3 separate regions of the Homo sapiens genome follow, and regions 2 and 3 are each linked to region 1. The links are contacts of gene promoters, found by promoter capture Hi-C in blood cells and fetal thymus (Javierre and others, 2016). All regions are on one chromosome and are shown on one strand. The core of a region is centred on a gene start or on the middle of the fragment in contact, and the rest is flanking DNA. Distances in the headings are between cores, read along the strand shown.

What was found. Contacts are between HindIII fragments. The CHiCAGO score rates a contact against its expected background, and 5 or more counts as called.
Region 2: a fragment that was not itself captured here is called in contact with the fragment with the promoter of SRPK3 in region 1 in 3 of 17 cell types (naive CD8 T cells, M0 macrophages and M1 macrophages); the score reaches 6.1 in naive CD8 T cells.
Region 3: a contact is called between a fragment that was not itself captured here and the fragment with the promoter of SRPK3 in region 1, in 1 of 17 cell types (M0 macrophages). The highest score is 5.2, in M0 macrophages.

The regions. Positions count from the first base shown.
Region 1 is chrX:153,778,471-153,782,290 of GRCh38, reverse strand. It overlaps SRPK3 (SRSF protein kinase 3), which reads right to left and starts at 1,250. Exons shown (of 15, transcript NM_014370.4): 1 at 1,146-1,250; 2 at 945-1,075; 3 at 678-786; 4 at 461-548; 5 at 83-170. The coding sequence starts at 1,204. LOC124905227 (a long non-coding RNA gene) reads left to right here. Exons shown (of 2, transcript XR_007068355.1): 2 at 1-2,977. PLXNB3 (plexin B3) reads right to left here. Exons shown (of 36, transcript NM_005393.3): 34 at 3,820; 35 at 3,617-3,691; 36 at 2,950-3,356. The coding sequence ends at 3,252. The HindIII fragment of the contact is 52,875 bases long and covers 1-3,820 here.
Region 2 is chrX:153,887,734-153,891,553 of GRCh38, reverse strand. It overlaps L1CAM-AS1 (L1CAM antisense RNA 1), which reads right to left. Exons shown (of 7, transcript NR_130768.1): 7 at 2,564-3,057. Among named protein-coding and RNA genes, the nearest start is that of L1CAM, 3.5 kb to the right of the region's middle. The HindIII fragment of the contact is 721 bases long and covers 1,396-2,116 here.
Region 3 is chrX:153,850,441-153,854,260 of GRCh38, reverse strand. No RefSeq gene overlaps it. Among named protein-coding and RNA genes, the nearest start is that of PDZD4, 22 kb to the right of the region's middle. The HindIII fragment of the contact is 1,373 bases long and covers 1,399-2,771 here.

The DNA of each region.
Region 1 (3,820 bases), core at 1-2,500:
GCAGACAGGCTCTAGCAGCGAGGGCCCCCCCATTTGCCGGCCCTTGGCTGCCACACTGCTTTGCTCTTCCTGCAAAGGATACGGACTCCATTGACTCCTGAGATCCTGAAGTCATCAATGAGCTGGACAATGGTCTCTCTTTTGGGGTCACTGGGGTCGCTGTCCCGGACCTGGAGCAAAAGCCAAGGGGCCACAGATGGTTCCACCCTGCCCTGAAGCCCACAGCTCCCTTCAGTGTACCCTTCTCCTGCTCCAGCTGGGCCCTGCTGGAAGAAAGGCCGCCAACCCCTCCTGTCCCTCGCCTGTTCCTCCAGATCCTCCCCCTTGGGCACAGCCAGCTGGAGGCTGCCCCTCAGGGAGCCCCGCCCTGCCCCACAGAGCCCCGGCAGGCCTTGCACCCGCATTGCCAGGCCCCAGGCAGCTCCAGGGGAGCTGGGAGTGGGGTAGGGAGGTGCCTCACACATTTCAGGAGCTTGATCTCATCCACAGCTGTCTCCGTGTAATGCCCCGCACTCTTCACCACTTTGAGGGCCACAAAGCGCTTGCGCCTGCAATACCGAGACCCTTGTAGGCTGTGGCCCTGGCAGGACCCACGGCGGGGATCAGGGTGGCCCCAAGCAAGCCCAGGGACAGGATCCCAGCCAGTGCTGGGCCCCGGAGGCGAAGGAGGCACTCACTGGATGTCCCAGCAGAGCCAGACGGTGGAGAAGTGGCCCCAGCCCAGTTTGCGCACCACGTGGTACCGCCCATTGAACACGTCGCCGATCTTCACAGGGTGGTAGCCGCCTGCCCAGGGGAGATGTAGATTGGGGTGGAGGGGGTTCTCACTCCCCTGGGCCCCCGAACACCTCGGCCCCATTGACCATCTGGCCCATGTGGGCCCAGGACTGCCCTGGGTCCCTGCAGTGGCCGTGAGGCCGCATGTCCCCAAGGCCAAGTCTCACCCTTGCAGTAGTCTTTGGGGTCTTCCTGTTCCTCGTCGTCGGAGCCCAGAAGGCCCTGCAGCATCTGAGGCACCGGTGTGGCCAGGGCTAGTTCGGAGCCCGAGGACTCGGGCCCGCAGGAGGCCTGTGAGCTGCGGGTGGGGTGAGTGGCAGTGGGCATGAGAGACGCCAGGGGCTCCGGGTGCCCCAGCCGAGCCCTACCTGCTGCTACTGCCGCCGCTGCCGCCGCTGTCCCCACCACCGCCCGTGCTGGCGCTCATCCCGGCCACGCAGCCCGCAGCTCCGGTGCCCCGGGCGGCTGCTCCTGTGGGGCCCGGCCGCGGCCTGCGAATTTATAGCCTTGGCCGGCCGCTGATCTCACCCGCCTTTATAAATAGCCTCCCAGCTGCTCGGCTGTGGGCAAGGTATGCGGTGCGGGGAGGGGGCGGCGCGACGGCGGCCCCAGAGAGCCCGGCCCCCGGGCAGAGGCCCCCCTCCTGCTCCAGGCCCACCCTGGAGGCAGAGGGGGCTGCTGCTTGGGGACCAGGGGCAACTGGGCCCCCAGGCTGAGCCTCCGCACCCCAGCTGAGGGGGAGGTCCACGCGGGGGTGAAGCAGCCCGTACCCCAGGTCGGGCTCCCGTTCTCCGGTGCGGACTGTGGGGATGTGCTCCACTTGGCAACCTGGTCCTTAGGCCAAGCCCCCACCACCTGTGCCCCTGTGGGCATCCTCCTGGAGGTGCCCTTCTCATTCCCATGGGAACCCTGTCCCTGGCTGCTCCCAGCCACTTCCTGCTTCTTCTATGTTTCATCAGCCCCTAGGACAACTGGGAGTCCAGTGCCCTCTGAATGTGGCGTCACTGGGGACCCCTCATTTCCCCTACCAGAGGCAACAGGCCTGCTGAGGGGAGGCCTGGGAGCTTGCCAGCCCAGAACCTGCTCCTGCGACGCTGCCTGGCGCTCTGGCTCCCAGCGCCTGCTCTTCCTCTCCACCATTTGCAAGGTGCCTGTCGTGGGCTGCTCCATAGCCAGACATGAGGGAGGCAGCAGGAAGCTGCTCACTGCTGGGGACAAGCAAGCCCATAGCCACTTCCCCATGAGTGCGGTGGTGACTGAGGGGCCTGTGACCCAGGGGCTGCATCATGAGAGACCAGGAGAAATTGGGTCCCCAGAAGCATCCAGGGCAGCACAGGGCACAGTGGGGCAAGGCCTGCGGCCAAGACGCGTTCCAGCCCTTCACGTGCTGGCCACGGCTGCCGCATGGTTCGAGGGCGAGGACTAGAGGCCTGGTGTCTGTAGGCTTAATGTGGAGCTTGGGTGATATGGGGTTGGGGGGTGGTCACTGAGCTTCTGCTCAGCAAAAGATCACTCTGGCCACTTCAAGGACAAGGGAATGGAGAGGCGAGGGTGGAGCCGGGAGGCCAGCTGGGGCCTGACAGAGGAGTCCCAATGAAAGGGAGGGGGCTCGGCAGAGAGGGTGTTTGTCCCAAGATATTGGTGCAGTGTCCCTGTACCAGGGTCCGTGAACTGGTAGGGGTGGGCCAGGCATTGCTGGAGGGGCCAGCGAGGTCAGAGAGTGGGAGGGAAAGTGAAGCCCGGGTACCTGATGGCCTCTCTTTGTCTGTGGGTAGCAGGTTATAGGCATGGGGCTGAGGGACTCTCAGTCAGGAGAGCACTGAGTCAGCTCCTGCAGGGAACAGCAGGGGCTGGGGATTGGGCCCTTTGTCAAAAGACATTTCTGGCCAGGCGCGGTGGCTCATGCCTGTGATCCCAGCACTTTGGGAGGCTGAGGCGGGCAGATCACCTGAAGTCAGGAGTTTTGAGACCAGCCTGTCCGACATGGGGAAACCCTGTCTTTACTAAAAATACCAAAATTAGTCGGGTGTGGTGGCACACGCCTGTAGTCCCAGCTACTCGGGAGGCTGAGGCAGGAGAATTGCTTGAACTCCGGGAAAAAGAGGTTGCAGTGAGCCGAGATTGCGCCACTGCACTCCAGCCTGGGAGAGAGAGCGAGACTCCGTCTCAAAATAAAATAAAAAGACATATTTCTATTTTATTTCCGGATGTGATTTTCCAGCAGGCAAATAAATACAATGGGGAGAGGGGGAAGGAGGGGGATCCTTATAAATTAGAAACAATCTCAGGTGGGGGGAAGGTGGGTGGGCTGGCAGGGGAGGTGGCAGGCAGGGAGCCCACTGCTGGGCACAGTGCCTGGCTTTGCACCCTGTGCCCCCAGGCTCTGCCAGCTCCCCTCAGTGGCTGGCTCGGTTCCGGGGTCATAAGGCGCTGCGGTGTTGGTGGATCCGGCTTGCTGCTGTCTGAGCCAGAGCTCACAGGTCAGTCACTTTGTTTTCCACCAGGGCGGCGACCTGCTGCAGGCGGCAGGCCAGCTGCAGCTTCTGGCCCACAGGGTCCTCCTCCAGGGCACTGATAATCTGCCCGGGCAGAGGAGGGTGCCTGTCTGAGCCTGCCCCTCTGCCTGCTGGCCCAGGGCCACCCACCCTGCTTCCATCACCGCAGGAGCCTGGGGATCCAGCAGGGGCTGCCTGGCGTCTCCCTGGGGAATCAGAATGAAAGCCGAGTCCCTTCCCCAGCCTGGGCCCCGCCAGCATGGGCTGGCACCCCTGCTCCCCCGGGAGGGTCCACGGGCCTCCCGCTCCACTGTGCCTCCCCTCCGGAGTGCCCTGGGCCTCACCTGATCATAGTACCTGTGGATGTGGTTGTAGAGTTCTTGCAGAGCCTCCAGACAGTGGGGAGCAGAAGTGTAGTTCTGGGGGCACCACGTGGAGGGGGGCAGTGAGGTCCCAGCCTGGTCCTCAAGCCCCAAGTCTCCCCCCTCTGCTCTGCTAGTCTTTCCACCCACGTGTGGACAGGCGCACCCCCCGGGCCATGCCTCACC
Region 2 (3,820 bases), core at 507-3,006, 110 kb before region 1:
AACATGGTGAAACCCCATCTCTACTAAAAATACAAAAATTAGTTGGGCGTGGTGGCCCACGCCTGCAATCCCAGCTACTTGGGAGGCTGAGGCAGGAGAATTGCTTGAACCCAGGAGGTGGAGGTTGCAGCAAGCTGGGATCACACCATTGCACTCCAGCCTGGGCAACAGGAGCGAAACTCCATCTCAAAAAAAAAAAAAAAAAAGTGAGCCACCAAGTCCAGCCTATACTCAAGAGGAGGAGAATTAAGCACTACCTTTTGAAGGCAGGAGTATCAAATAATTTATGGACCTACATTAAAACCACCAGAGCAGAGGTATTAGTTAACTTTAGACTTTATTAAGAATGCATGTTAAAATAGGTAGAGGAACTACTAAAAAATTCATAGAGCACTTCTAAACAAACAGAGGAGAAAATAGAATGAGAGAACAAATCCAGTCCATCTAAAAGATGACCAAGAGCAGAGCATCTGCCTGGGCATATTGACAGCTCTCGGCACTCACTCCCACCTTGTGGGCTCTGCATGGCAGAGGCTGGAAATGTTCCAGACTCCAGAGCAGCTGGACTTTGGGAAGCAAATTTAGTTTTGCCAATTGGCAAATTGGCAAATTTGCCAATTGCCAAATTGGGTGTGCTCACATGAAGTTTGGATGACTGAAGGAAGGGAAGCCACACTTCTGCTGTGTGGGGCTGCGTTTCTGCTGGACATCAAAGAATTTCTGGGGTCTAACCTTCACTTCTTGGTTGTTGAGGGGCACTTGTGGCAGCAATGGCTTCCTGGTCCCAGCTTGCTGATCCTCAGGTCATGACTTTGGTGGTGTCTTTTTGAACTCAAAGGTTACACTGGCCGCCTCCCAATCCCCCATCTTGTGGATGGTGGCAGAGGTAGCAGCTCCCTTGAGGAGCCAGGTCTGCACTGGTGTTATCAACACCTAGCCCAGAGTCCACTCCTTTGGCCCATCCAATGGTCAGGTAAGCATCTAATCCCTTCTACAGAATCCCTTTCTGTTCATGATCACGGGAGGAATTTCTGCTTCCTACCCTGAACCTTTGAGAGGTGAAGCCAGCTAGACTTCCTGGGTGATGTGGGGACTTGGAGAACTTTTCTGTCTAGCTAGAGGATTGTAAACACACCAATCAGCGCTCTGTGTCTAGCTAAAGGATTGTAAATGCACCAATCAGCAGTCTGTAAAAACGCACCAGTTTTCTGTGTCTAGCTAGAGGATTGTAAATGGACCAATCAGCACTCTGTAAAATGGACCAATCAGCACTCTGTAAAATGGACTAATCAGCAGGACATGGGAGGGGACAAATAAGGGAATAAAAGCTGGCCCCCCCCCGCCCCCCACAAGCAACGGCAACCTGCTTGGGTCCTCTTCCATGCTGTGGAAGCTTTGTTCTTTCACTCTTCACAATACATCTTGCTGCTGCTCACACTTTGGGTCTGTGCCACCTTTAAGAGCTGTAACACTCACCGCGAAGGTCCGCGGCTTCATTCTTGAAGTCAGCGAGACCAAGAACCCACTGGAAGGAACCAACTCCAGACACACCTTCACTGATACAATGTGGGGGTGAGGCCAGGTGCAGTGACTCACTCCTGTAATCCTAGCACTTTGTGAGGCCAAGGCAGTGGATCACCACTTGAGCCCAGGAGTTCAAGACCAGTCTGGACAACATAGTGAGACCTCACCTCTACCAAAAAAGAAAAAAAAATTAATCAAGTGTGGTGGTGGCACATCTGTTGTCCCAGTACTTGGGAGGCTGTGGTGGGAGGATCACTTGAGCCCAGGAGGTCGAGGTTGCAGTGAGCCATGATCACACCACTGCACTCCAGCCTAGGGAACAGAGTGAGACCCTGTCTCAAAGTAATAACAACACTAATAAAAAATAATAAAGTGGAGGTGGGGGAGAGAGATGGGGAAAGCAGGACAAATAGAAAGCAAATACTCACCTGGCGTGACTACATCCAGAGATAGCAGCAGTCATCACCGTGTGACCAGCTGACCTGCACAGTTCAAAGACAAAGGCAGGTTCAACATCAATCTACCACTTGACTGAACAATCCACTCCTAAGCGGTTACCTTAGAGAAATGAAGACACACATTTACACAAGCTTGCATATAAATGTTTAGAGCTGCTCCATCATAATCACACAAAGCTGGAAACTACCCAAGTGTCCTTCAGTGAGTGAATGGCTGAACAAACCCTGATCCAACCAAACAATGGAATACTACTCGGCAATCAAAAGGAAATATACTGCTCTCTCTCGCCCGCATGCTCTCTCTCTCTCTCTCTCACACACACACACAAACACACACACCAACATGGATGAAGCTCAAAAAGTATGCTGCGTGAGTGTGAAAGAAGCCAGACAAAAGAATATATACGGTATGATTCCATTTATAATAAAATTTAGAAAAGACAGAAATCAGATCAGTGGTGGCCAAGGGCAGGGGGTGGTGGGAGTGGTTGGCTGCACACAACATTCACCAAAACTCCTTGAACTGTAAACCTCAAAAGGATGAATTTTACTGTATGTAAATTATACTCCAATAAAGTTGATTTTTTTTTTTTTTTTTTTGAGACAGGGTCTCACTCTGTCACCCAGGCTGGAGTGTAGTGGTGTGATCATGGCTCACTGTAGCCTCAACCTCTTGGGCTCCAGCGATCCTCCCACCTCAGCCTCCTGAGTAGTTGGGACTACAGACATGCACCACCATGCCTAATTTTAAAATTTTTTTTGTAGAGACGTGGTCTCGCTGTGTTGCCCAGGCAGGTCTCAAAGCTGATTTTTAAAAAGACAAGAATTGTTAGACAGAATCAAACCAAACCAAAACCCAACTATGTGCTGTTTCCAAGCGCTACACCTGAGATATGAAGACACAGAAAGATTGAAAGGAGAACAGAGAAAGACACGTCTGGCTGAGCCCACCCCGCCTGCCTGCTGGCACTTCCTTACTGCCCCACTGTCGTCTGTGGCTTCTGCGTCTTCTGCATGCTCATCACAGGGTCAGAGTCTGGGGCTTCCCTTGTCCAGTCCACTGTGTCTATGAGGGCTGGGTCACAGGGAGCAGGGCTGTGAGAAGCACTTGACGTTGAAGGGAAAGAGACAGTCATCTGTCTACTTGGTGTCCCCCTAACCTCCAACAGCAAGCACATGGCAGTGGGGGGGTGGCTTGCCTCTTGTTCAGGGCCAGTCCCTCCTGCTTCTCCTGGGACTTGCTCTGCCCTTGGTCTTCTGTCACTCTTGCTCTTGCTCCCATTGGCTCCTCCACTTCATTACATGGAAGTGAGAATGGGCATCGTGGTCAAGCAGAAGGGAATTCAAGTCCGAGTTCTGCCATTTACCTTCTGGGCTATCTTGGGTGGGTCATTTGACCCCTCTGAACCTTGGTTTCCTCATCTGTGAAATGGGGGCACTGATAGTGCCAATTTCTTCCTGGTTGCATGACTGCCCCTCTCTGGACCTTGGGTACCTCACTGGGAGAGTGAGGATAATAACAGCACCATCATCTGGGGTGTGTGTGTGGATGCAATGAGCCAGTGGAGAGAAAGAGACCTTCCTAACTGTGCTTGCTGGACCCAGCCTTGAGCTCTGTGGGCTTTGGTTTTCTCATCTGTAACGTGGGGCGAATGCTTCAACAGACCTCCCCAGGTTGGTGTGCAATTTAAATGTGCAGGAAATGTAACGATGGCAGGTCCATGGCTGTGCTCAGGAAATGTGATGTCGTGTAATCCTAGTAATGAATTTTTTGTTACCATAAATGGACCCATCACTACACATTAGCAGGTGCGTATAAACGGGCTCTATTCCCTGCT
Region 3 (3,820 bases), core at 836-3,335, 71 kb before region 1:
TCTGCAAAAAATACAAAAATTCGCCGTGTGTGGTAGCTTATGCCTGTGGTCCCAGCTGCGTGAGAGGCTTAGGCAGGAGCATCCATTGAGTCCAGGAGGTTGAGGCTGCAGTGAGCCATGTTCATGATACTGCACTCCAACCTGGGTGACAGAGCAATGGCCTGCATGACAAAGGTCATGGTAGCATTATTTGTAGTGACTAAGGAAGCAGATAAAACATTAGGGAGTGTTATGCAGTACTTGGAAGCAAGATTATATGTAGACTCAACAATATAAATAGAGCCTAAAACCTAGTGCTGAATGACTTCTGTGTCTGGCAATGACAAAATAAGTAATTTGAACCACAACCTCCACTGAGAACAACTAAACAGACTCAGTAAAACAGGGAAAATATTTGCTTGAAAATATCCAAGTGATAATAGGCAGTGAAGCATATGGGACCAAGATATGGGAGAAAGGAAATGAGCTGAGAGATGAGCTCAGCATTTAAGGCTGCTTATCCCCTATGGCCATCCGCTAATTCCAGCAGAGACAGCTGAGGGCCCAAGAAGCTGAGCAGAACAGTTAGCAGACTTAAGAGGTGAGGGGTCAAAAGTCAGAGTGCAGGGCTCACCAAGGAAGAAGGCCCTAGTAAGCTCCTCGTGCTTTGGGTTGGAAACCCAAAGGTCTAGGAATAAGTGTAAACTGGAAATAGAATAGCCCTCTAAAGGACTGCATCCCTGTCCCCTAAGGGACTGTAGTCAAGATTTGAGCTCTTTCAATCCCTGAAAATTGGATTAAGGTGATCAGGATTTCTAGTGCCCCAGCTGCCTGCCAGAAACAAATGTAAATTTTCTCTGGAGGAAGATAACATTGTCCTTGGCCTCAAATGATTTATAGTTTCCATTCACAATGTCCAGCACTCAATAAAAAATAACGAGGACAAGGCCCAGCATGGTGGCTCATGCCTGTAATCCCAGCACTTGGGAGGCTGAGGCAGGGGGATTGCTTGAGCCCAGTAGTTCAATGTTACAGTGAGCTATGATTGCACTCCAGCCTAGGTGACAGTGTGAGACCCTGTCTTAAAAACAAACAAAACATGTCATAAGGAGAAAAGAAAATTTAATAAAAATGAAATTAGAAAAGTAATATAATAAAAATAGAGCCACAAGGACTCCAAATAATGGCATTATCAGATACAGACTTTAAAATAATTATATTTAATAATTCAAGGAAACAAAAGACAGAATTGAGAAATTTAGCAGATAATTTGAAACTACAAAAAGAATCTAGTGAAAAATTTAGAAATATAAAATATACAAATTAAAGTTAGGAGCTCAATGGGTGGGATATACAAGAGCTGAAGAGAGAAATAGTAAACAGAAAGATAAATCAGAAGAAAATAGCCAGACTAAAGCTTGGAGAGGTAAAAAGGTGGTAAAAGACAATGCAAAAGGAGGTAAGAAACATAGGGGATACAGAAAGAAGGTCTCATATATGTGTGTGTGCGTGTATTTTTTTTTTTTTTAAGACAAGGTCTTGCTGTGTTACCCAGGCTGGAGGGCAGTGGCACAATCTCCACTCACTGCAGCCTCGACCTCCTGAGCTCAAGCAATCCTCCTGCCTCAGCCTCCTGAGTAGCTAGCACTACAGGCACATGCAATCATGCCCAGCTAATTTTGTTCATTTTTTTTTTGTAGAGATGAGGTCTTACTATGTTGCCCAGGTTGGTCTTGAGCTCCTAGGATCAAGGGATCCTCCTGCCTCAGCCTCCCAAAGTGCTGGGATTACAGGCATGAGCGACCATGCTTGACCTAATATATGCTTAATTGGAGTTCAGAAAAACAAGGTGAGAAAGAATGGGGCACAGATAATATTTGAAGAGTTAATGGATGAAATATTTCCAAACTGGTGAAATATATCAAGTCAGTTTCTAGAAGTCACGTGAACCAAGAGCGGGATAAAACAAACAAAAAACCACACCTAGGCACATCATAGTAAAACTGAGGGAAAGCAAAGACAAAGAGAAAACATTCAAAGCAGCTGGTGGGTGGGTTGATTACTTTTATAGTTATGCAGTTTGACTGACAGCCAACTTCTCAACACAAACTACAGAAGCCAGAAAACAAGACAATGGTATATCTGATGTGCCAACAACAACAAAAAAACTGCCAGCCTTGAATTTTATGTCCGAGGACAATCTCTGTCCTTGGATCACAAAAATGGCCTCAAATTCTTGCCATCCCTGGATGCATACCCTTTTGTGATGGAACTTTCAGCTCCTCCCTGCAAGAGATAGAGTCCATTTTTCCACACTCTCAGATCTGGGCTTGGCCATGTGATTTGCTTTGGTCAACGGGACATTAAAAAACACAAGGCTTAAAAAGTGCCAATATGGCTGGGCGCAGTGGCTCACGCCTGTAATCCCAGCACTTTGGGAGGCTGTAATCCCAGCACTTTGGGAGGCTGAGGTGGGTGGATCACCTAAGGTCAGGAGTTTGAGACCAGCTTGACCAACATGGTGAAACCCTATCTCTACTAAAAATACAAAATTAGCCGGGCATAGTGGCACAGGCCTGTAATCCCAGCTACTCGGGAGGCTGAGGCAGGAGAACTGCTTGAAGCTGGGAGGTGGCAGTTGCAGTGAGCAGAGATGGTGCCATTGCACTCCACCCTGGGCAACAAGAGCAAAACTCTGTCTCAAAACAAGAAACAAAACAAACAACAACAACAACAACAACTCAAATAAGGGAAAAGGTGGTAGGATGGCAGGACTGACTATAATGTAAGCTTAGGAGCAGCTATTCAGTATTTGGGACTCTAGAGAAAGTCAAAGAAGAAAAGAAGAAACTGAAAAACTCTGTGTTAGCTGCTCAGGTCTGTTTACTGAAAGGGAGTAACTCCTGTTCTGGGCAACCCAGAAAGGAAAGGAAGCAAGACACGTGTCATCATTGCAAGAAGCAAGGACATTGGAAGAGGGATTGTCCAAAGAGACTGGGGCATGCAGGATGGCAGGAACAAGAGAATCAGGGGTGGGGGCCTAGGAGGATAAAACTCTCAGCTAGGAGATACTTTGCAAATGGCTCAAAATGGATAGATTGAGGAGATGGCAGTGGCGGGAAGAGATTAGGGTTAAGTGTGTGTATGTCGGTCACTGTTTGCCAGGCTGACCTGTCCTTGCCTTTTCTCATACAGACTGGTGCTACTTATTCTGCATTTGCCTTGGAAAGCTCTTGCTCTTGCTTTCCATCAGTACAGGTTGTTTGTATCTTGACTCAGCCTTCTACATATTCCCTTCCCTCCAATTCCCATCAGATGGGCCCTCTGCCTTTGCCTAAGGAGCAAGTGCTCCCCTTTCCTCCTGACTCTTCTGTAAACCTATTGGCGAGAGACCTGCCATGCACCTCCAAGCCTACCATATTCAGTGCCGGAAAAGCCCCCTTCCTGAGCTGACACAAATCAAGGCATCTTTTGAGCCCTAGAGAATCGAGATGCTGATTTAATTTGAGCTATAGAACCCATAAAATCAATTTACCAAAGGGATAAGCCATAGCTGTGTGTAAAACAATCTCCTTTGTTGGGAGCTCAATTAGAAGGAATGAAATAGGTTATAAAAGAATTAGAGGCCAGATGTGGGGGCTCACCTGTAATCCCAGCACTTTGGGAGGTCGAGGCAGGAGGATCTCTTGAGCCCAGGAGTTTGAGACCAGCCTGGGCAACATAGCAAGACCCTGTCTCTACAAAAAGCAAAAAAAAAAAAAAAAAAAAAGAAAGAAAGAAAGAAAGAAAGAAAGAAAGAAAGAAAGAAAGAAAGAAAAATTAGCGAGGCGAGGTGGTGCAT